4 separate regions of the Homo sapiens genome follow, and all the other regions are linked to region 1. Evidence: promoter capture Hi-C in human tissues and cell types (Jung and others, 2019). All regions are on one chromosome and are shown on one strand. Each heading gives the region's core, a stretch centred on a gene start or on the middle of the fragment in contact. The rest is flanking DNA. Distances are from core to core; before and after follow the strand shown.

Region 1 (5,087 bases), core at 706-3,205:
AGACTGGTATTTGATACTTGTCCGATCTCCTCATTTTAACATGTTACATATTTAAAGGACAGAAATCAGAGTCAGTAGGTAAAAAATCTTAGGGACATAGACTTACTAGCTCAATATAGTGAGCTAATTCAATATAATGAGCTAATACTTGACAACTAGATACTTTAAAAAGTGTTAACATGCAGCTTGTGAATAGCAAGTTTTCTACCTGGATCAAACTGGGGGAGGGGAACACAGGAAAACTCCAGAAAGCAAGCCACTATATTTTTGAACACTACTCAGAGACAACAGAAAAGCTAGCTTTGTGATGTCAGAAAAGCTTTCTTGGACCCTATCTCATTCTAAGAGTTCAGGAAAATCTAATTTCGTGTAAAAATGAGCAATGGAAAAAGATGTCCAATCACATAAAATGTTTTTGTCAAAATGGAATTATGAATGCTTTAGTAAACTGGAAGAAATATCTCTGAAGAATTTAGAAGAAAGTTGTCAGCAAAGCATTTATGGATGTAGTATTTGACCTGGGTCCTCCTTGCTACTTAAATCAGTTGGAATATTAACCTATGTTAATAGTGCAGCTGGAAGAGTAGTGGTTCCGTTCTCATTCTGGAGGGATGTTTTCATTCTGGCCCTGTCTGTTTGCTGTTTGATAAGAGAGTGGGAAAGGGAGGGGGTTATAAAGTCGTGATTTATTCACAAGGGCAAAGGGAAGGACAAGGAACTTGAGAAAATTACTCCATCTAGGGTTTCTGATCCATCATCATCCTTGTTCTGCGCTCACTCAGCCGTATCCAGCTCTACTGGGCATATCACTATTATTGCTATCAATTGTTTTGCTAGTTGCTTAGTCCCAAATCATTATCATCTTTTCTGTCATTCCACATTTAGGTATTTTATTCAACAAATAGACTGAATGCCTATTATATACCAGACACTCTTCTAAAGCACTGGGGAAAGATAGAGCATGGATCAAAACAACTTCCTGTTCTCCTGGAGTCTACAATTTTGTTTGGTGGTAGTGGAAGCGTAACTAAATATATATGATAAGTGCTATAGAGAAAAGCAAATTAGGGTTAGAATGGAACGAGATGCCCCGCTGGCCTGTAAGCTCCAGGAGGACGAGGACCTGCCCTCTCATTAAGGTATTTTCCGTGCTTAGAATGGTGTCTGCTACGTAGTAGATATCTATTATTGGTTGAATGAATAAGTGATGTTGACCATAGATAAATTAGTTCAAAACTTAGATTTTCAAATTATGTCAGTAGCAGGCACACATCTTAAATTGTTATATCACTCCAGTGCACGTCTTGCTGAAATTCAGAAGAGGAAGCTATTTCGTATGAAGCCAATAACCTCAAATCAGAAATGAAAACTGGGATATCACCTGTCATATCACTTGCCATCCTCGGCTAAGCCAGGAGAGTGTCCGGCCCAATATTCGGTAGCCTGGATACGTAGGTGTATTTAGTGAACGAAAGAATGAATCCTAGCCACTGCAAAGCTGCAAAACCCTCGGGGGTAGTGCTTGGCTTCTGCCAGTTCCACAAGTATTTTAATATTAGCTGAACAAATGAAATGACCAAAAAATAAATCGCGATTTTGTGTCAGATGAACTTGGGAAGGCGGATGCGCTTAGGGTCCGGCTGTAGCGAGTAAGACACTCCCTGCGAAGAGTTCTGTGGGGTACGAACTCCGGACTGCGAGTCCAGCTCACGAGTTTGTACCTAAAACCTTGCCCTGCGGGAGCGACGCTGTCCTAACGCGACCTGCCCTGCCCGTCAGCTCCTATTGGCTGACTCTCGGAAGACCCGCCTCTTGAGAAGGAAAAGCAGTCGCTTCCCGAATTGCCTGACATCATGCAATGACCAATCAGAAGCAGCGATCTTCAGTTTTGCCCAATGAGGCTGGTTACGGGTCCTGGCCCGCGGAGTTTGATTTCGTCCTGGGATGCGGAAGTAGCAGTCCTGTCATGCGGAAGTAGCAGTCCGGTCCTAGGGACTAGCAGGTGGGTTGGTTGGGCGCAGGAGGACGGGGGCGCGCTTCCCATAACATTACCCTGGCTGAGCGTGAGGCTCCAGGGCTGGGCACCGGGTTGACCTCTTATTCCTCGCTGAGGGCATCGTTACCGCCTGTGGCTGCAAGCCGAGGCGCGCGGGTGGAAACTGGGTCGAGGTCTGGGTAGACGTCTGAGCGATCTGCACAAGGAGTGGCGCAGTCTGGAATTTGATTGAGGATTCCTAACGCCCTCCGCTTGATGTTCTGGTGATTCCCGGGGGCTCGGCTTCGGAGGAAGGTGAGCAAGGCTACCACGCTGTGTTTGGAGAGCACCAGGAAGCTTGTGACCAAAGCGAGGGACGCGATCCGGCTCTGGTCACGGCCTGTTACTAGATGGGTGACCAAGTCACGTCCCGTATCTGGAATTCATGCTTCTCATTTTAAAAGAGTGAGGAGGGATGGGCATTCCACATGGCTGGGGAGGCCTCACAATCATTGCTGAAGGCAAATGAGTAGCAAAGTCACATTTTACATGGTGGCAGGCAAGAGGGCTTGTGCAGGGGAACTCCTGTTGATAAAACCATCACATCTCATGAGACTTATTCACTACCACGAGCATAGTATGGGGGAAGCTGCCCCCATGATTCAGTTATCTTCACCTGGCCCCACCCTTGACACGTGAGGATATGTGTGTGAGAAGAGCTACTGTTTATTTTTTTAAAAACTGAGTCGTCCCTTGCCTGCTTTCAAGGGTTGGCTAAACTCACCCATCTGCTAAGAGTCTCAGCCCAAAGCTTTCAGGAAAGAGCGAGCTTCGCTGTGGCATGTAACTTGAAGCCTTGCCTACTAAGTAGATGTCCAGTTTGTTGATTGGTCTCTATTAACTAGGCTCAAACATCCTACGAGGTTTTAATGTAATCTAACCAATTAATTGAAATTTCCTTTACAACCCTCTCTTTCCCCCAGACTTCCCCTTCCTTTCTTTTTCTCTGACTTAAAAGAATGCTGGCTAGGAGAAATTAGTTGACTGTGTCGTGTATCAAGAGGACTTTTCCAGGTTATGTAGTACAATTTGGCATTTATTTGTCAAGAGTAACATTTTCTAAAATTTTCCCCAAAGGCACCAAGAAACTGATAATGTTCCTTTGAATTGGCTTCTGTATTTGCTTCATCAATGTCTCTCATACTGAATATCTTAAGAGAGATGCTGGAATATTTTGGCGTTCCTGTAGAACAGGTAAATGTCGTTTTGGATTGGAATGGATCTGTTGTATTTGTTCTTGGGTTTCATTTTGAAAATGACTTATATGTAATCATTTGATTTAAGGCAAAGTTGTTGCTTCTTTTTAGTTGGAACAAAGGTGAGTTTGTAATAGTATAGCTTTGATGATTTGAGTTAGAAGAGGGATAAGATTATTGAGAACATATTTACCTGATAGGACAAATGCCAACAGAAGATACAAAGGAAGCAAAATATAGACATGAGCTTCACAGAATTACATTTATTGCACAGATACATTAAAACTTCTATTCAAGGTAATTTATAAACAAGTTCAATATTTAAAGCTCAATAAATCCAGAATAAATCTAATGGAAAGAGGATGATTTAGGCCTGAGAATTATAAGCTGTATTAGTCTGTTCTCATGCTGCTAATAAAGACATACCGGAGACTGGGTAATTTATAAAGGAAAGAGGTTTAATTGACTCACAGTTCCACATGGCTGGGGAGGCCTCACAATCATTGCTGAAGGCAAATGAGTAGCAAAGTCACATTTTACATGGTGGCAGGCAAGAGAGCTTGTGCAGGGGAACTCCTGTTTATAAAACCATCACATCTCATGAGACTTATTCACTACCACGAGCATAGTATGGGAGAAGCTGCCCCCATGATTCAGTTATCTTCACCTGGCCCCACCCTTGACACGTGAGGATAATTACAATTCAAGGTGAGATTTGGGTGGGGACACAGCCAAACCATATCATAAGCAAATCAAATTTTATCTACTTGTTGAAAATCTGCTGTATCTAAGACAATATGCTTGTTTCTGCAGGTAATACAGAGGAGTAATACATGGTTGTATTCATAATGCTTAAAATATGAGGAATAAGAAACAATAAAGATAACTGTAATATGAGATTGTAAGGAAGACGGGTGGGGTGAATTAGAAGAAAGTAGTCAAGGATAATTTAAGATTTTTTTAAAGCAAAAGTAAGTTGAAGAATCATAGTACCATTATTATAAATGGGCATCTTAGTATGAGAAACTAGTTTGAATATGGAGATGAGGTGAGTCAGAGGTGATGTTAGAACATATAAGTAGAAATATCCTTCAGACAATTGGATATATATATGGTTTTAGTATGTAGGAAAGAAAAAGATTCAGTTTTGGGAGTTATCTGCTTTGTTTTGATATTTAAAGCCATGGACTTCGATAATGGCAAATGTCATTAGATGTGATTGAAACATTCTAAATATCAGTAATCGAGAGACTGAAGATAACAGCTGAACATTTGTTTATCACTATTAGGTTATTGGTGACCTTAAGAATTTCTGTAAGTGGAGAATGGGACTGTGTTGGAGTAGTTTGAAGAATATCAGGAAGGGAGGTGGGATCAGCAACCTTCTTTTGAAAAGTTTGCTTGTGAAAAGAAATTGAGAGAGGCCATCAGCCTGAAGGGGCCGCAGGATGGAATTTTTCTTTTTCTTTTAAAGTTAGAAGTAACTTCAGCATATTTGTCATCACTCTGGAAGAAACAGACAGGAAGAAATTTAAGATCCACATGAGAGAGGATTGAGCACCGCCTTTGAGAAGGTAGTTGGGCAAGGGATCTAATTAAATAAGTCTTGGAAAGGAGAGAGACTGTCCTGCCTTAAAGAACAGAATGAAAGTGAGAGAGAGTGAAAAGAGATTTTTTTTTTTTTTAAGATGGAGTCTTGCTCTGTTGCCCAGGCTGGAGTGCAGTGGTGCAATCTTGGCTCACTGCAACCTCTGCTCCGAGGTTCAAGTGATTCTCCTGCCCCAGCCTCCCGCGTAGCTGGGATTACAGGAGCCTGCCACCAATGCCCAACTGATTTTTATATTTTTAGTAGAGAT
Region 2 (5,087 bases), core at 759-3,258, 930 kb after region 1:
TTTTATTATATTAAATTAGCTCTTCCCTTACACTGAATAACCTCACTGCTTCTTGATTCCATGAACCAACATAGATTTTTTTTACAAATACATTTCATGTACATATCATTACAGTGTCAAAATAAAGTTTTTTGACAGTTGAACCTGACGTATATCATTCAGTCAGTCAGCATGTTTTATTGAATGCCTTCATCCATGCGCTCTATTAATCCCCACTGAAACAGGAGTTTCAGGAGTAGGCAAGGCACTTGCCCTTAAGTTGCTTACAGGCTGGTGCACACACCTGCAAGCAAGCAAGTCCAGTAGACTCTGGTAGAAACTATAATGCAGATATGTACACAGTATATTGGGAACACATACAAAGAAAGCCTCTTAAATATACCCTGGGGGAGTCCATGAAGAGTTCCCAAGGAGGAAATACTTGACCTGAGGCATCTAGGATGCAAAAATATGTGTTAGGTCAGTGAAGTTAGAAAAACCTTTCCAGCAGAGGGAATAACGTGAGTAAGTTATGGGATGGTATGATTATGTCTGGGCATAAGTTCTAATAGAGAGAAGTACAGGAGAAATCCAGGAACCAGGCCACAGAAGAGCGTAGCATACTCTACTAAAACACTTAAATTTTATACTCCTGACGAAGGGGATCCCCTGAAGGACGTAATTCAGGGAATGACATGAACAGATTTGCATGTTAGAAAGGTCATTCTAGTGCAGCAGAATAGTTGCTGAATTTGAGGTAGCTAAGGACCTAGCACAAGGAAATTAGGAATCCATGGAAATAAAATACAAAAACCTGAACTAGGGGGGATGGAGGTCAGGGGACATAAGCTGTAATTGACAGGATTTTATGATTGATTGGATTTTATTAGTGAAGTTGGAATCTAGGATTTTGCTAAGGGTCTTAGACAACTGAATAAATAGTGGTGCCATAGAAGTAATGAAATAAATAAGAAAGATTTGGGAAGACAGGGAAAAGGAATCACCATTCCTTGCAGAGTAAGATATGATAAGCTCAGTTTTAGATATCTCAATTTGTTAGTAGTATCTGTAGTGCTCCCAGATAGAAATATTCACTGGGAGCCAGAAATGCAGGATTGGAATTTGAGAGAATGTAGAGCTTCAAAATCAAATGAGAATTAGTGTGTTAGTTCTATTATATCAGTAAGTGGAAGCTTGTAATGAAGGCAGAGCCCAGAAAGTATGTCATAGAGCTATAAGAGGAGAAGGCCAAGGACAGAACCTAATTAAACACTAGTATTAAGGGACAGTCAAAGGAAGAGAAAATTAAGAAAGAATAAAGGAAAAGGAAAAAAAGAAAAAATAATAAACAGAAAAAAGTGCCCTGGAAGCCAGAAGAGGTAGAGAGGTTCAAGAAGAGTATAGTTGGAAACAGCCAAGCAGTTAGGTTGTCGAAGCATTTGGTCATCAAGAGGACCCTGGTAGCTTTGTACCGGTATCAATAGAGTGGCAAGGATTAAAGAGCAGAGTAAAGGTGGAATGAGGCCTCAGCATGTGAACTCTCATGGAAGCCATTCTCAAAGTTTCACTTTGAAGAATAAAAAAAGATTCCTCAGTGGCTAAAGGGAGGTCTGGTGTCCATGAATGATTTTTTAAATAATGGACAGATGTAAAATTATATATTAAGGAGACAAAGCCAATAGACAGGTTCAGGTTGAAGACAGATAAAGAAAGGACACCAAGGACACAGTGGATCTTGGAGGAAGCAGGAAGTACTTTATTGGAAAGACAGGTTGACAGATCAGTCTTGCTCCAAGCAGAGGGTTCTCAAGTGAGAGTGATTGTGCCATCCAGGAGTCATTTAGCAATGTTTGGAGATGTTTTTTTGTTTTCTCAACTACAAGGTGGGGGATAATACTGGTGGGCAGAGGTCATGGATGTTGCTCAGTATCCTAGAATGCAGAGGACAGCTCCCCTCAACAAAGAATTCTCTGGCCAAAAATGTCAACAGGATGGAGCTTAGAGCAGTGCCCCTCTAAACAGGTAAGTGTGGATAGGGATGCAGATAAGTTAATAAAGGGTTGAAGTCTAGAAATTAAAGATATTTTTATGTTCTCCAAAACAAAAAGCAAGGTTCATTTCTAATGCGAGTGGCAAAGGAGTGAGATAGGAGCACAAGAAGAATAATAACCATCTGAGTAAGGAAAATAGGGGCTCATTTAGGACATATAAAAAGATTTCTTAGTAGTTCTGGGAGCTGCTCTTTTGGATACCATAAGAATGGAGGTGGCATAAATCTACAGTTGGATTTTTTCTTCTTCAGTAGTCTCTTCTCAGCATCTAGGGCATAGCAGTAGAGAAGGCAGATTTGGTTTAATATATAATTGGAGTTGTGAATGTGAAAGGAACACAAGAGGTTGAGAGACTTGATAGAATTGGTAAGAATTACCAGAGTGATGCACCATAGAGGATTATCCATTTGGAAAGGACGTAGAATCAGAAGATTGGCAGAGTTAGAAAGCACGTTCTCCTCTACAAGGTTACAGCAAGCTACCGGGGCCCAGGTAGAGGCATAGCATCACACGGAAAAGGAGTCACCAAGCTAGAACTATAGAGTTCAAGGCCATAAACTCTTTTGCTTATTTAGTATCTCAGATGTCAGGCAGCTCAGGTTATGATAAATTCATAAAGTATGTATAAAAGCTGAAGTGAAATTGAGGAACATGTTATTAGAGTTGAACTGGTCAAGGAACTAGGACCCAGAGTGTTGGACAGGTTGTACTCTTGAACATTAAGATTCCAGGATGATAGCAAGAGTTAGGATGAAGAGGAAACTGATGAACAAAGAGCTGACATACTTAATTCTTAGGTTAGAACAAAGGTCTCAACTTTGGCTTCACATTGAAATCACCAAACCAGTTAAAAAACTAGATATGGATTACAATCTCCACCCCTTCAAATACATTTAGTTGGTGAAATAGGACGTAGGCAAGGGCAGATTTCAAAAGCTTTCCAGGTAATTTTAATGTGCAGCCAATATTGACAGCCATTGTGTTAGAATGACCACAAGGTCTGCAGATCACAGATGCAAAGATAAGCAGGAGATGTAATAGCCAGGTGTCAGAGCACCCAAGGAAAAGTGCTTTGGCATTGCAATACCCTAAAATCAGCAGTAGGGAACTAAGAGGAGGCCATTGTTAACTCCCGGCTCTCATGGTTCATGAGAGAACCATGAACTATGTGAGAATGAGTAGCCTGTGCTGTAAGGAACTGAAAGAAAAATGGTTTCTTGGTAAAACATCAGTTTCAAATAAGCAAGGATATATGGTGATGGTTGCCTACAACAATGTAAGGACTGTAAGGGATACAGTCAAGAGGATTGGCAGGAATTTGATTATGGGCAAATGTTACAAGTGTAATATTACCCATTGTTTGTAATTCAGCAGCAGATTTAAGAATTTAGGAAAATGCTTGTCTTAGTTGTGTCTGCTGTAACAAATGTAGACTGGGTGGCTTAAATAACAAAATTTTTTTCTCACACTTCTGGAAGCTGGAAAGTTCATGATCAATGTGCTGGCAGATCCAGGGTCTGGTGAAAGTCTCCTTCCTGGTTTGCAACCTCACTTATCCTCACTGGGCAGAGAGCAGAGAGAGGAAGCAAGCTTTTTTGTGTCTCTCATTATAAAAGCACCAATACCATTTATGAGGGCTCTGCCCTCAAGACCTAATTACCTCCCAAATACCTCCTAACAACCATCTTGTTGAGAGTTAGGATTTTAACACATGAATTTGGGGGTTACACAGACATGAGGTCCATAACATAAACATAAGGTTAACACAAACATAACACAAACCTGAGGTCTAAATTTACAACATAAAAACCTTTAATGCAGTGGAAGCATTTATAACATTGGTGTAAAGGGTTGCTGTGACAGCTAACAATACTTTTAGTCTGTATTAAAAACTGTGTGATGCTATGAAACATACAGTCTTTACTCTTTGTGATTTTTCTCATGTCCCTGACTCTGCAACACGGTAACCTTTGAAACTGAGGTGACCTGACCCCCCCTCCCTTAGTATGTTTCTATTACCCTTGAGTTAACATTGACTCTGCCAGAGGAAACATAAAGAACTCTGTCAGTGTCTTACCTGTGAAGTTGGTATTGCCCCTTCCTCTTCCTGATGTGCCTGTGTTCTTATGGATAGGGACCTCCTACTTGTTTCCAAAACTTCCCAGTTCTCACTGCCTGTGCCACTCTACTTAGGTGGACTCACTGCATCATAGTCTTAGTTTAGACTGTAGTTGATTTTTCAAATTTCCTATGACTTTTGCCCCTCATAGAGTGATCTCCATGCTTCAAACATACCTTCATATTCATATTGCAGCAGACCAGTTCTTCAGATACCATCGTCAGTCACCCTTGAGGTCTACTTCAGGCTAATCCCACTGATGCCCAAACCTTAATTCTAATAGATTTAAGGAATTTAGAGTCATGTAAAGGAGTGGCAGAGGATAAAACTCCATTTGGGCAAGGGAGTAGGAATGTTCTCATGGAGGATATGGAACTCAAATTAGGCTTTAAATCTTAAGATGCGTGGATTTCTTTTGTTGAAGAACATGATTTGATCTTCTCTATCTGAATCCACGTGTTAGAGTAGAATCCTGCATATATTTTTTTCTCTTAGGAATGTGCTATGTGTGTAAGACAGTATTTTACTTCCCAGTGAGAGAAGGTATAACAAATGATCTATGTTTATGGAAAAGAAGCCCCTAAGAAATATAATGTTGCCTCGAGTAATTAAAATGATTTGAGTGCACTCTGAGTCATGGAACTAACAGCCAACTTTTGAGAAACGTGTAACTGAGCTTCTTAGCACCTGGCTAGTTGCATTTCTTAAATTTAGCTCCTTTATTAAAATATATATGGTTTGATTTTATCAAGACCTTACCTTATAAACCTCCCACAGAGTCTATCAGATATTTAATTTCATGTTCAAGTCTTATTTTTATTATCACTTTTTTTTAAGAAAGAACATGAAAAGTCGTCTGTGATAAAGTGACTAAAATTGTGGGGCATCTAAGTTCATAGAATTACAGAACTAGTGACATGGAAAGGACCTTAGAGAAC
Region 3 (5,087 bases), core at 1,159-3,658, 710 kb after region 1:
TTTTTTAATTTTTATTTTAGTTTTGGGGTATATGTGAAGGTTTGTTACATAGATATACATATGTCATAGGGGTTTGTTGTACATATTATTACACCACCCAGGTATTAAACAGAGTACCCAATAGTTATCTTTTCTTCTTCTCTTCCTCCTCCTACCCTCCCCCTTCAAGTAGACCCCAGTGTCTGTTGTTTCCTTCTGTGTGTTCATAAGTTCTTATCATATAGCTCCCAGTTATAAGTGAGAATATGCAGTATTTGGTTTCCTGTTCCTGTGTTAGTTTGCTAACGATGACAGTCTCCAGCTCCATCCATGTTCCCACAAAAGACATGATCTCATTCTTTTTTATGGCTGCATAATATTCCATGGTGCGTATGTGCCACATTTCCTTTATCCAGTCAGTCACTGATGGGCACTTAGGTTTATTCCATGTCTTTGGTATTGTGAGACAATAAACATTTGCGTGCATGTGTCTTTATGGTAGAATGATTTATATTCCTCTGGGTATATACCCAGTAATGGGATTACTGGGTCAAATGGTAGTTCTGCTTTTAACTCTTTGAGGAAATGCCATACTGCCTTCCACAATGGTTGAACTAATTTACACTCCCACCAACAGTGTAATAAAGTATTCCCTTTTCTCCACAACCTCCCCCGCATCTGTTATTTTTTGACTTTTTAATAATAGCCATTCTGACTGATGTGAGATGGTATCTTATTGTGGTTTTCATTGCTTTTCTCTAATAATCAGTGATATTGAGCTTTTTCTCATATGCTTCTTGCCCATATGCATGTCTTCTTTTTGAAAGTGGTCACGTCCTTTGCCCACTTTTTGATAGGGTTGTTTTTTCTCTTGTAAATGTGTTTAAGTTCCTTATAGATGCTGGATATTAGACCTTTCTCAGATGCATAGTTTGTAAATATTTTCTCCCATTCTGTAGCTTGTCTGTTTACTTTGATGATAGTTTCTTTTGCTGTGCAGAAGTTCTTTGACCTAATTAGATCCCACTTGTCAACTTTTGCTTTTGTTGCAATTGCTTTTGGTGTCTTTGTTGTGAAATCTTCGCCCATTCCTAGGTCCAGGATAGTATTGTCTAGGTTGTCTTCCAGGGTTTTTATAGTTTGAGGTTTTACATTTAAGTCTTTAATCCATTTTGAATTGATTTTAGGGTATAAGGAAGAGGTCCAGCTTCAATCTTCTGCATATGGCTAGCCAGTTATCCCAGCACCATTTATTGAAAAGGGAGTCTTTTCCCCATTGCTTATTTTTATCAGTTTTGTCGAAGATCAGTTGGTCATAGATATGCAGCCTTATTTCTGGGGTCTCCATTCTGTTCCATTGGTCTATTTGCCTGCTTTTGTACCAGTACCATGCTGTTTTGGTCACTGTAGCCTTGTAGAATAGTTTGAAGTCGGGTAACATGACGCCTCCTGCATTGTTCTTTTTGCCTAGGATTGCCTTGGCTATTCGGGCTCTTTTTTTGGTTCCACATAAATTTTTAAATAATTTTGTTTAGCCTTGTGAAAAATGAAGTTGGTAGTTTGATAGGAATAACATTGAATCTGGAAATTGCTTTGGGCAGTATAGCCATTTTAGAGATATTGCTTCTTCCTACCCATGAGCATGGGATGTTTTTACATTTGTTTGTGTCTTCTCTGATTTATTTGAGCAGTGTTTTGTAGTTCTCATTGTAGAGATCTTTTACTTCCCTGCTTATCTGTGTTCCTAGGTATTTTATTTTGTATGTGTGGCAATTGTGAATTGGATTGCCTTTCTGATTTGAGTCTCAGTTTGGTTGATGTTGGTGTGTAGGAATGCTAGTGATTCTTGTACATTGATTTTGTATCCTGCAACTTTGTTGAAGTTGTTTTTCAGCTGAAGGAGCTTTTGGGCTGAGACTATGGAGTTTTCTAGATATAGAATCATACCTTCTGCAAACAGAGATACTTTGAATTCTCTTTCTATTCGAATGCCCTTCATTTCTTTCTCTTGCCTGATTGCTCTGACTAGGACTTCCAATACTATGTTGAATAGCAGTGGTGAGAAAAGGCATTCTTGTCTTGTGCCAGTTTTCAAGGGGAATGCTTCTAGCTTTTGCCTGTTCACTATGATGTTTGTTGTGGGTTTGTCATAGATGGCTCTTATTATTTTGAAACATGCTCCTCCAATACCTAGTTTTTGAGACTTGTTAACTTGAAGGGATGTTGAATTATTTCAAAAGTCTTTTCCACATCTATTGAGATAATCATGTAGTTTTTGTCTTTAGTTCTGTTTATGTGATGAATCACATTTATTCATGAACCAACACTGTCTCCCAGAGATGAAGCCTACTTGATCATGGTGGATTAACCTTTTCAGGTGCTGCTGGATTCGGTTTGCAAGTACTTTGTTGAGAATTTTTCCATCAATGTTCATCAAGGATATTGGCTTGAAGTTTTCTTTTTTGTTGTGTCTCTGCCAAATTTTGGTATCAAGATGATGCTGGCCTCATAGAATGAGTTGGGAAGAAGTCCCTCCTCAATTTTTTGGAATAGTTTCTGTAAGAATAATACCAGCTCTTCTTTATGTATCTGGTAGAATGCTACTATGAATCCATGAGATCCTGAGGCTTTTTTAGTTGGTAGGCTATTTATTACTGATTCAATTTCAGAGCTCATTATTTATCTATTCAGGGAATCTATTTCTTTCTGGCTCAGTCAGATGTCACTTTAAATCGAAATCGGTGGTCAAGGAAAGCCTTTCTGCAAAGATGACACTCAAACAAAGATTTAAAGGAGAAGAAGAATGAGCTCCCCAAAATATATAGGGAAGAGTATTTTAAGCAGAAAGACAAGCAAATGCAAAGGCCCTGGGGCAGAAGTGTGGACCAGTAAGAGGAGATGAAGTCAGAGGAGTAGGGGAGGGGACACAAATCACAAAGGGCCTTAGAGGCCATGGTACTGACCTTGACTTTCAGCCTGAGTAGAGGAGCCATAGAAGGGTTTTTGAGTAGAGAAGACAGAGTTTGATTCTCAAGTGATCATTTCTATTGTTTTGTTGAGAGTAGAGTTGTGAGGGGCAAGGGTGGAGGCAGGGAGACCAGTTTGGAGGCCTTTTTAATAAGCTAGATGCCTCAGCCGCCACTCTTGGGCAGAGAATATTCCACTGGTTGTGCCACAAATCTGTCTTCAAAACAACACACCTCCAAGTGCAGCCTATAATACACTAAAGTATCACATAGCTTTGAAGTACAAATGCAGGTAGGGTCAGCCCAGCTGTCCACTGACTCAAGCTGGCTCCTGTGTGAGTAGACATTATCAGGGGACCCCCACTCATATACACTAGCACTGCACAGAGGGAGTTGAGAGAACAGTGCTGTCTGTGACTTGTTACTTAATGTTGCTCTCAGCCTCTACGGTTGCAAACCCACTATTCCTTTCATTCTTGAATGTGTCCACCCCATCCTTTGGCTCAAAAGTCTACTGTTAACATTGTATATATTGACTCAGTTTCCCCACTCAGCTGCCTTTCCCACTCCTGCAACTGAGCAAGGTAAAACTATAGGAATCCTATTTATGTCAAGACATAGCAGAGATATCACCAGTATACTGTCATTATGGATGAATATCCACTTTCTTACCCAACATATATATGCCCTGTTTGAGCTTAAATGCTCCACACAAACATGTAGGCACCAACTTTAGGCTTTTTTTTTCTATTTTTGGCCTTGCAAAAGCCCCATACTCTTTGTGAAAAGAAGGGAAAAGTTCCACTCTCTCTACCAGCGTTTTCAAACCAAGATGTGACCACAAGTACAGCAGCACCACCTCAGGGCTACCCTGGGAAATGTGTATCTGAGGGCCTGGATGTGAAAGTTGTGTATCTGTCTTTTATATCCAAACACCCATAGGAGGCCAGAAGAGAGATCTGTTATCTTAGAATGAGAGGATTCCAAGATGATCCAAGGTGTTTGGTAAATCCTAGGGCTTATCATATGATGGCAGAAATTTATCCCGCATTTCCCTACCATATCTGCCCAAATAAATGGTTTCCCCTAAGAGGCCAAGTGTTTGACTGATGCTTTGCTTCATTTGTAGCCTTATAGGTGCTGCAGTTCCTGTTTTCTGCTGACCAGCTGTTCATCTGCCCTAACCCTCCCTGACCATAAGCCCATTTTTTTAAATAAACTGCACAGTAGTATCATGGAGACAATGGATAAAAAATACCAATGCTCATGCTTCTCCATAGCAAGTTAATCAAACTTCTGTGAGTGTGGCTAAGGCATTACTTGGGGTGATGGCAATGTGCAGACAGGATTGAGTGAAAACTCCATTCTTAGCCATCAAAACTAATGTCTTTATTCCTTAAGTGGAAACCATCCTCATTCAAGAAAATACTGGAAGAGAACAAAGCTAACTTTATCCGTGAACCTAATTCTACACAAAACTGATCCCAGACAAGGTGTGATGGTTAATATTGAGTGTCAACTTGATTGGATTGAGGGATGCAAAGTATTGTTCCCGGGTGTGTCTGTGAGGTTGTTGCCAAAGGAGATTAACATTTGAGTCAGTGGACTGGGAAAGGCAGACCCACCCTCAATCTGGGTGGGCACAATCTAATCAGCTGCCAGTGCAGCTAGAATAAAAGCAGACAGAAGAACGTGAAGAGACTAGACTGGCCTAGCCTCCCAGCCTCCATCTTTCTTCTGTGCTGGATGCTTCCTGCCCTCAAATATCAGAGTCAAATTTCTTCAGCTTTGGGATTTGGACTGGCTTTCTTGCGCCTCAGTTTTCAGACAGCCTGTTGTGGGACCTCACCCTGTGATTGTGTGAGTTAATACTCCTTAATAAACTCCCCTGTATGTATATACATCTATCCTATTCGTTCTGTCCCTCTAGAGAACCCTAATACACAAGGTCAGTTCTCCTAGCGGGAATGGGAGCTTTTGGACACCAAATTTTCCTTTGACATGTGGAGGTACTATTTCCCTTTGCTTTTGCTCTGTAACACCAAAGCTAAGGCAAAACACAATCCAGCATCCCAACTCCCCCATCCCCTAAAAACTGATTCAATCCCTCTACCTGCTTCTTGACAAACAGCCTTGATGGCT
Region 4 (5,087 bases), core at 925-3,424, 630 kb after region 1:
ATCTGAAGGAACGAACTCCGGACACACCATCTTTAAGAACTGTAACACTCACTGCGAGGGTCCATGGCTTCATTCTTGAAGTCAGCGAGACCAAGAACCCACTGGAAGGAACCAATTCCGGAAATAAAATGACTGAAGTAGCCATTACATGACCACGATATTTATTATTATATGTAAATAATTAAGTATATAAATGTCTCTTTTTTCAGGGTTCAAAACTAACTTCGGTGCTAAATGGAGAACTGAGACAATCATACAGGCTTGGCAGATTAGTGTAGGGCAAACAAGAGAGGGAAAAACATGGTTTGAATTAGCCTATGAATTGTTTCTATATCTTCTCTCACTTGAGCATGATTAAATAAACATTTGCATATTCACAATAGCAATTAGAAGAAAACATTTTAAACATGTTGCTTTAAACTAAAAAATCTAAAAACATGCAAACAACCATTCCAACCACTACCTTGAACCTACAAGTACTATTTTATCCTTCGGGATCCCAAGCAACACATAAATTTAAAGCAGAGAGCACACAAGAACCCCAGTAGAAAGGAAACAGCTGGTTAACAGCTGCATAGTGATACCATACGCCAGTTTTCAATGAAAAATAACACGTTTGATTAGAGCCTATAAGCTAAACTCTTATCCCTGGTTATCTCGTGGCTAAACAAGGTTCTCTCATGTTTTATTCCCTTCACATTTGGGCCCCATCCTGCAGCCCTAGATTAAAGGCAAAGAAGAAACATGGATTTCAGTCACATTATCTGCTTTCTAAATCCAAATTCAAAACTATTATTCATTCAAAGTAAATATGCATAGCATATCATGAGAGAGAACATTTTGTTCAAGGAGACCCAAAGAAAGCATGTTAATTATAACTTGTATTCACGTAGCACCTAACTTAGGAGGAGTTCAAAGCAAATGCACGTGTGGAAAAGGTCAAACCCACCAGTGAAACAGGAAAGCCATGGAGCTTCTTTTCCATTCCATGTCATCCATATAAGGCGGGGTTTCCTTTTATGTCTAAGTTTAGACATCATCAGAAAAGTCAAACCACAAGAGAATGATGAAAATTGTGCTAAAATGTGGTTGATGTTTATGTTTTCTGTACCAACACAACCCTTTGGTGGAAAGTCTGAATCAGCTTCTCTGAGAACTTACTTATGACACATAATTAGAAGCGTTTACTCTTAAAAAAAATTTTAGCACTCGATAAAGCTCATCATATAGTCTGTATAAGCAGCATACAAGGTTATAGCACTATGGGAGTTAAGAAAATAAATGAAGCTTTGGTTCTGTGGTGGGAGAGGTCAATTATATCCACAGGTTGAAGGCAGTTGTTACTCAATAGGCAGAAATAAGGAAAAAAATTGAGACCTACATACAAGGAGAATAAAATGACATAAAACATGATAATGAAGAGAAAAAAGTGAGGGATATAAAGGGAGTGGTGAGTAGCCCCATACGTCTAAAGATGGGTTAGAGTTAGAAAATTTATGACATGGGGAGTATTGTATAGGGCTTAAAAGTGAGGGTGTGAATCCCAGATCTACCACATGGTTCTCTTGTGACCTTGAATAAGTTACATAAACTCTTCAAGACTTTGTCTCCTCTTCATTAAAATGGAGTTAATAATATTACATAGCTCATATGGTTTCCACAAAGATTAAGTGAGATAATCCCTGTGATAATCACAAAGGGAGAAAGTAGGTTCTATTCTTCATCTTTGTATGTTTGGAAGTAAGCACAGTGCTTGTTATATAGTAAGTGCTCAATAAATGTTAGCTTCCATGATGATTAAGAATTTTAAGATAAGAAAAGAAAGGTAGATCCAGAGCAACAAGACATTGGGCTATCACATTAAGGGACTTGGATTGTATATAATGATAAATGGAGAGACAATAGTAAAGTTTGTGATCAGAACATTGCTTAAGTTAATCTAGAAAATAAATTGTAAGGAGACTAGAGTTAGGATTACTACAGAGGAGGCTAAAGAGAGCCCAAGCTAGATGGGTGACTGTGCTTCTGGAAAGAGGAGAAAGAAGAAATATCTTGGAGGAAGCTTAGGAGCAACCCACAGGAAAGCCATAGAATATTTTCTTTAGCTGGGTGTGGCGGCAAGTGCCTGTAGTCCCAGCTACTGGGGAGGCTGAGGCAGGAGAATTGCTTGAAACCCGGAAGCGGAGGTTGCAGTGAGCAGAGATCGCGCTACTGCACTCCAGCCTGGGCGACAGAGCGAGACTCCGTCTCTACAAAAAGAAAAGGAAAAGAAAGCCATAGAATATTTTCTACATCTTCATAAAAACAAAAGGGCTGAATTCATAAATGACTTAAGCTCAACATTAGACTGACCACTGGGACAATGAAACAAACTCTAAGACTCAAATATCCTGAAGATACAAATTCCAGATAAATTAGACATTTACTGGCAGGAAGTTAGAACTTTCATCTTAACGAAGAAAAATTCAGGAAAACAGACCATTTCTATGACTTAGACCTCAATCAAAGTCCCGAGGGAGATATTTATTTAATAAAATAGTTAGGAGTGCTGACTGGGTAGCCAAACTGCCCGAGTTCAATTTCAGCACCGCCACTTTCTAGTTGTGTAGCAAGCTACTCAACCACTCCATACCTGTTTGCTCCTCTATACAATGCTCACCCCTGCTGGTATCTAATTAATAACAGTATTTATTTTAAAAGGTTTTTGTGAGGATTAATGATTTAATACACTTTAAACACTTAGAACTGTGCCAGGTACATAATTAACCATTGATAAATGTTAGCTTTTTTTTTTTTTTTTTTTTTTTTTTGAGATGGAGTCTCGCTCTGTCACCCAGGCTGGAGTCCAGTGGCGCGATCTCGAATTACTGCAACCTCCCCATCCCAGGTTCAAGCAATTCTTCTGCCTCACCCTCCCAAGTAGCTGGGACTACAGGTGCATGCCACCATGCCCAGCTAATTTTTTGTATGTTTTTTTTAGTAGAGAGGGGGTTTCACCGTGTTAACCAGGATGGTCTCGATCTCCTGACCTTGTGATCTGCCCACCTCAGCCTCCCAAAGTGCTGGGATTACAGGCGTGAGCCACCGTGCCCTGCCAAATGTTAACTATCTTAATTCCTGTGCTATTTCGATTTGATTTGGGCCAAGATTTACTGGTGGCATGTGGATCAATCCCAAATGCTATGCCACTTTCCCTGTGATTCACAATGATGACCCATACACCATGATATACCACTGCCCCTAATAAAACAGACTCATTTTTCACTTCCCCAATCTCCCACATACCAAAGATACAAGGTTTGACAATTTTGCACATAGTATGAAATGTTACTCTTCCTTGCATGCATCATGCATGTTCACATCATAAAGTGGAATGGCTCTAAAAACCAAGTGTTGTGGCTTCAGATGACTGATAACAGATGTTAAAACAAATTCCTGATTTAGGTTAAAAAATCTCAAATACTTTCAATATTTGTATGATTTTTTTAAAGGAGACATTTTTCAAATATGAGTTACAAAAACAAAATCCATATTCAAATTACATTCTGTATAGGGATTTAAAAGAAAATTAGCCGGGCATGGTGGCTCATGCCTGTAATTCCAGCACTTTGGGAGGCCGAGATGAGAGGATCGCTTGGGCCTGGGAGTGTGAGACCAGCCTTGGCAAAACAGTGAGACCTTGTCTCTCCAAAAAAAAAAAAAAAAAAATTAATTAGCTGAGTATAGTGGTGCATCTGTAGTCCTAGCTACTTGGGAGGCTGAGGTGGGAGGATCACTTGAGCCTGTGAGGTGGAGGTTGCAGCAAGCCAAGATTGAGCCATTGCATTTCAGCCTGGACAACAGAGTGAGACCTTGTCTCAAAATAAATAAATAAAATAAAATAAACCAATTTTGTGTTATATTTTTAGAAAGTGAGTTTAAAAATAATAAAAAGTCTTCTGTTTATCATCACAGAGTAGGCAATTTCTCCATAACTACTATGTAAAATATAAAATGTAGACAATGAACTCATAAAAAATAAAATAATTATACTGTTTATCACCACATAATTGCTATATAAAATTATGAAATATATATTAATTCAAGTGTCTTATTCTAACACACAAACTTTCTGTTGCACATAATGGGCCATTTCAAGCCTTTGATGTTTAATTACTATTTAATGATAGACTACTAATTCCAAACCAGTTCACAAGGTTGAAACTGTTTCTTGGATCAGTTCAGCATCCACTGCAATTTTAACTACCCTGAATTACTAATTTAGTATCATCATGGACATGCTAAATTAATTATTTCACTTAATATTGAGCATAAGCTAAGTGCATTGGAAATCCGCATTTCTTGATATCTGAAAGAAATAAGAAACTAAGAGCTACAGATTTTTAAAAGAGCATTCAGAAAACTTCAGAATGAATCAGTGCAAGTAATCACAAGTCTCTAATTTCTAGGCAATACTTTATTTCATTAAACATGGAATCTTTGAAATATTCCTTTAACACAGAATAGAGTTTTATGTATCCCAACTTGTCCCATACTGATCAGAAAGTGACAATCATGAATGCCTAAAGAAACCCTTTAAAAGTCAAGATGACCTTTCCAGAATGTACACTCCCATTTTGTGCATAATTATTCTACATGGCAAACAAAAAGACCATGATTATTTTATAAAACCACATCTGTCTAGATAAAGCAAACCATATTTTTATGTCACTCCATAATATTAAGCAACGTGATTAAGTATTCACATCTGTCATCCTTTTATTCTTCTCCTTTATCATCAGCTAAAAAGAAAACATGAAAGAAGTGAATTGATCTTTAACCAGAGGAAAAAGGAAAATACCCCACCTTTGGCTTATCAACACTGGCAACTGTTACCAAGCTCTGGGCTCAAAAGACCTAATAATTACCTTCAGGGTAAGGGACAGTAACAACATCCAAATTCCTCCCAACAGACCTTCCATGCAATTTATCTTATTGCCTCCTGGAAACAAGATGTATATGTTAGGTTTGCAGTGTCAGTGTGATCCTTTCCATTCTTCAATGTGAGAAATAAACAGGTAGCAATATGTATCATGGCTAAAAACTCA

What was found. Contacts are between HindIII fragments. The study calls those that stand out against the background at their distance.
Region 2: a fragment that was not itself captured here is called in contact with the fragment with the promoter of MTFR2 in region 1 in 1 of the 25 tissues and cell types used here (dorsolateral prefrontal cortex).
Region 3: a contact is called between a fragment that was not itself captured here and the fragment with the promoter of MTFR2 in region 1, in 2 of the 25 tissues and cell types used here (dorsolateral prefrontal cortex and hippocampus).
Region 4: a contact is called between a fragment that was not itself captured here and the fragment with the promoter of MTFR2 in region 1, in 1 of the 25 tissues and cell types used here (bladder).

What each region holds. Positions count from the first base shown.
Region 1 is chr6:136,247,179-136,252,265 of GRCh38, reverse strand. It overlaps MTFR2 (mitochondrial fission regulator 2), which reads left to right and starts at 1,955. Exons shown (of 8, transcript NM_001099286.3): 1 at 1,955-2,290; 2 at 3,113-3,229. The coding sequence starts at 3,167. RefSeq lists enhancers at 1,486-1,635, 2,286-2,505. The HindIII fragment of the contact is 3,026 bases long and covers 1-2,559 here.
Region 2 is chr6:135,312,816-135,317,902 of GRCh38, reverse strand. The region is part of intron 26 of AHI1 (Abelson helper integration site 1); the gene reads left to right. Among named protein-coding and RNA genes, the nearest start is that of MIR548A2, 76 kb to the right of the region's middle. The HindIII fragment of the contact is 5,785 bases long and covers 1-4,900 here.
Region 3 is chr6:135,539,397-135,544,483 of GRCh38, reverse strand. All of the region lies in intron 2 of AHI1-DT (AHI1 divergent transcript), which reads right to left. Among named protein-coding and RNA genes, the nearest start is that of AHI1-DT, 44 kb to the right of the region's middle. The HindIII fragment of the contact is 8,163 bases long and covers 1-5,087 here.
Region 4 is chr6:135,620,602-135,625,688 of GRCh38, reverse strand. The region is part of intron 2 of AHI1-DT (AHI1 divergent transcript); the gene reads right to left. Among named protein-coding and RNA genes, the nearest start is that of LINC02524, 12 kb to the left of the region's middle. The HindIII fragment of the contact is 3,430 bases long and covers 460-3,889 here.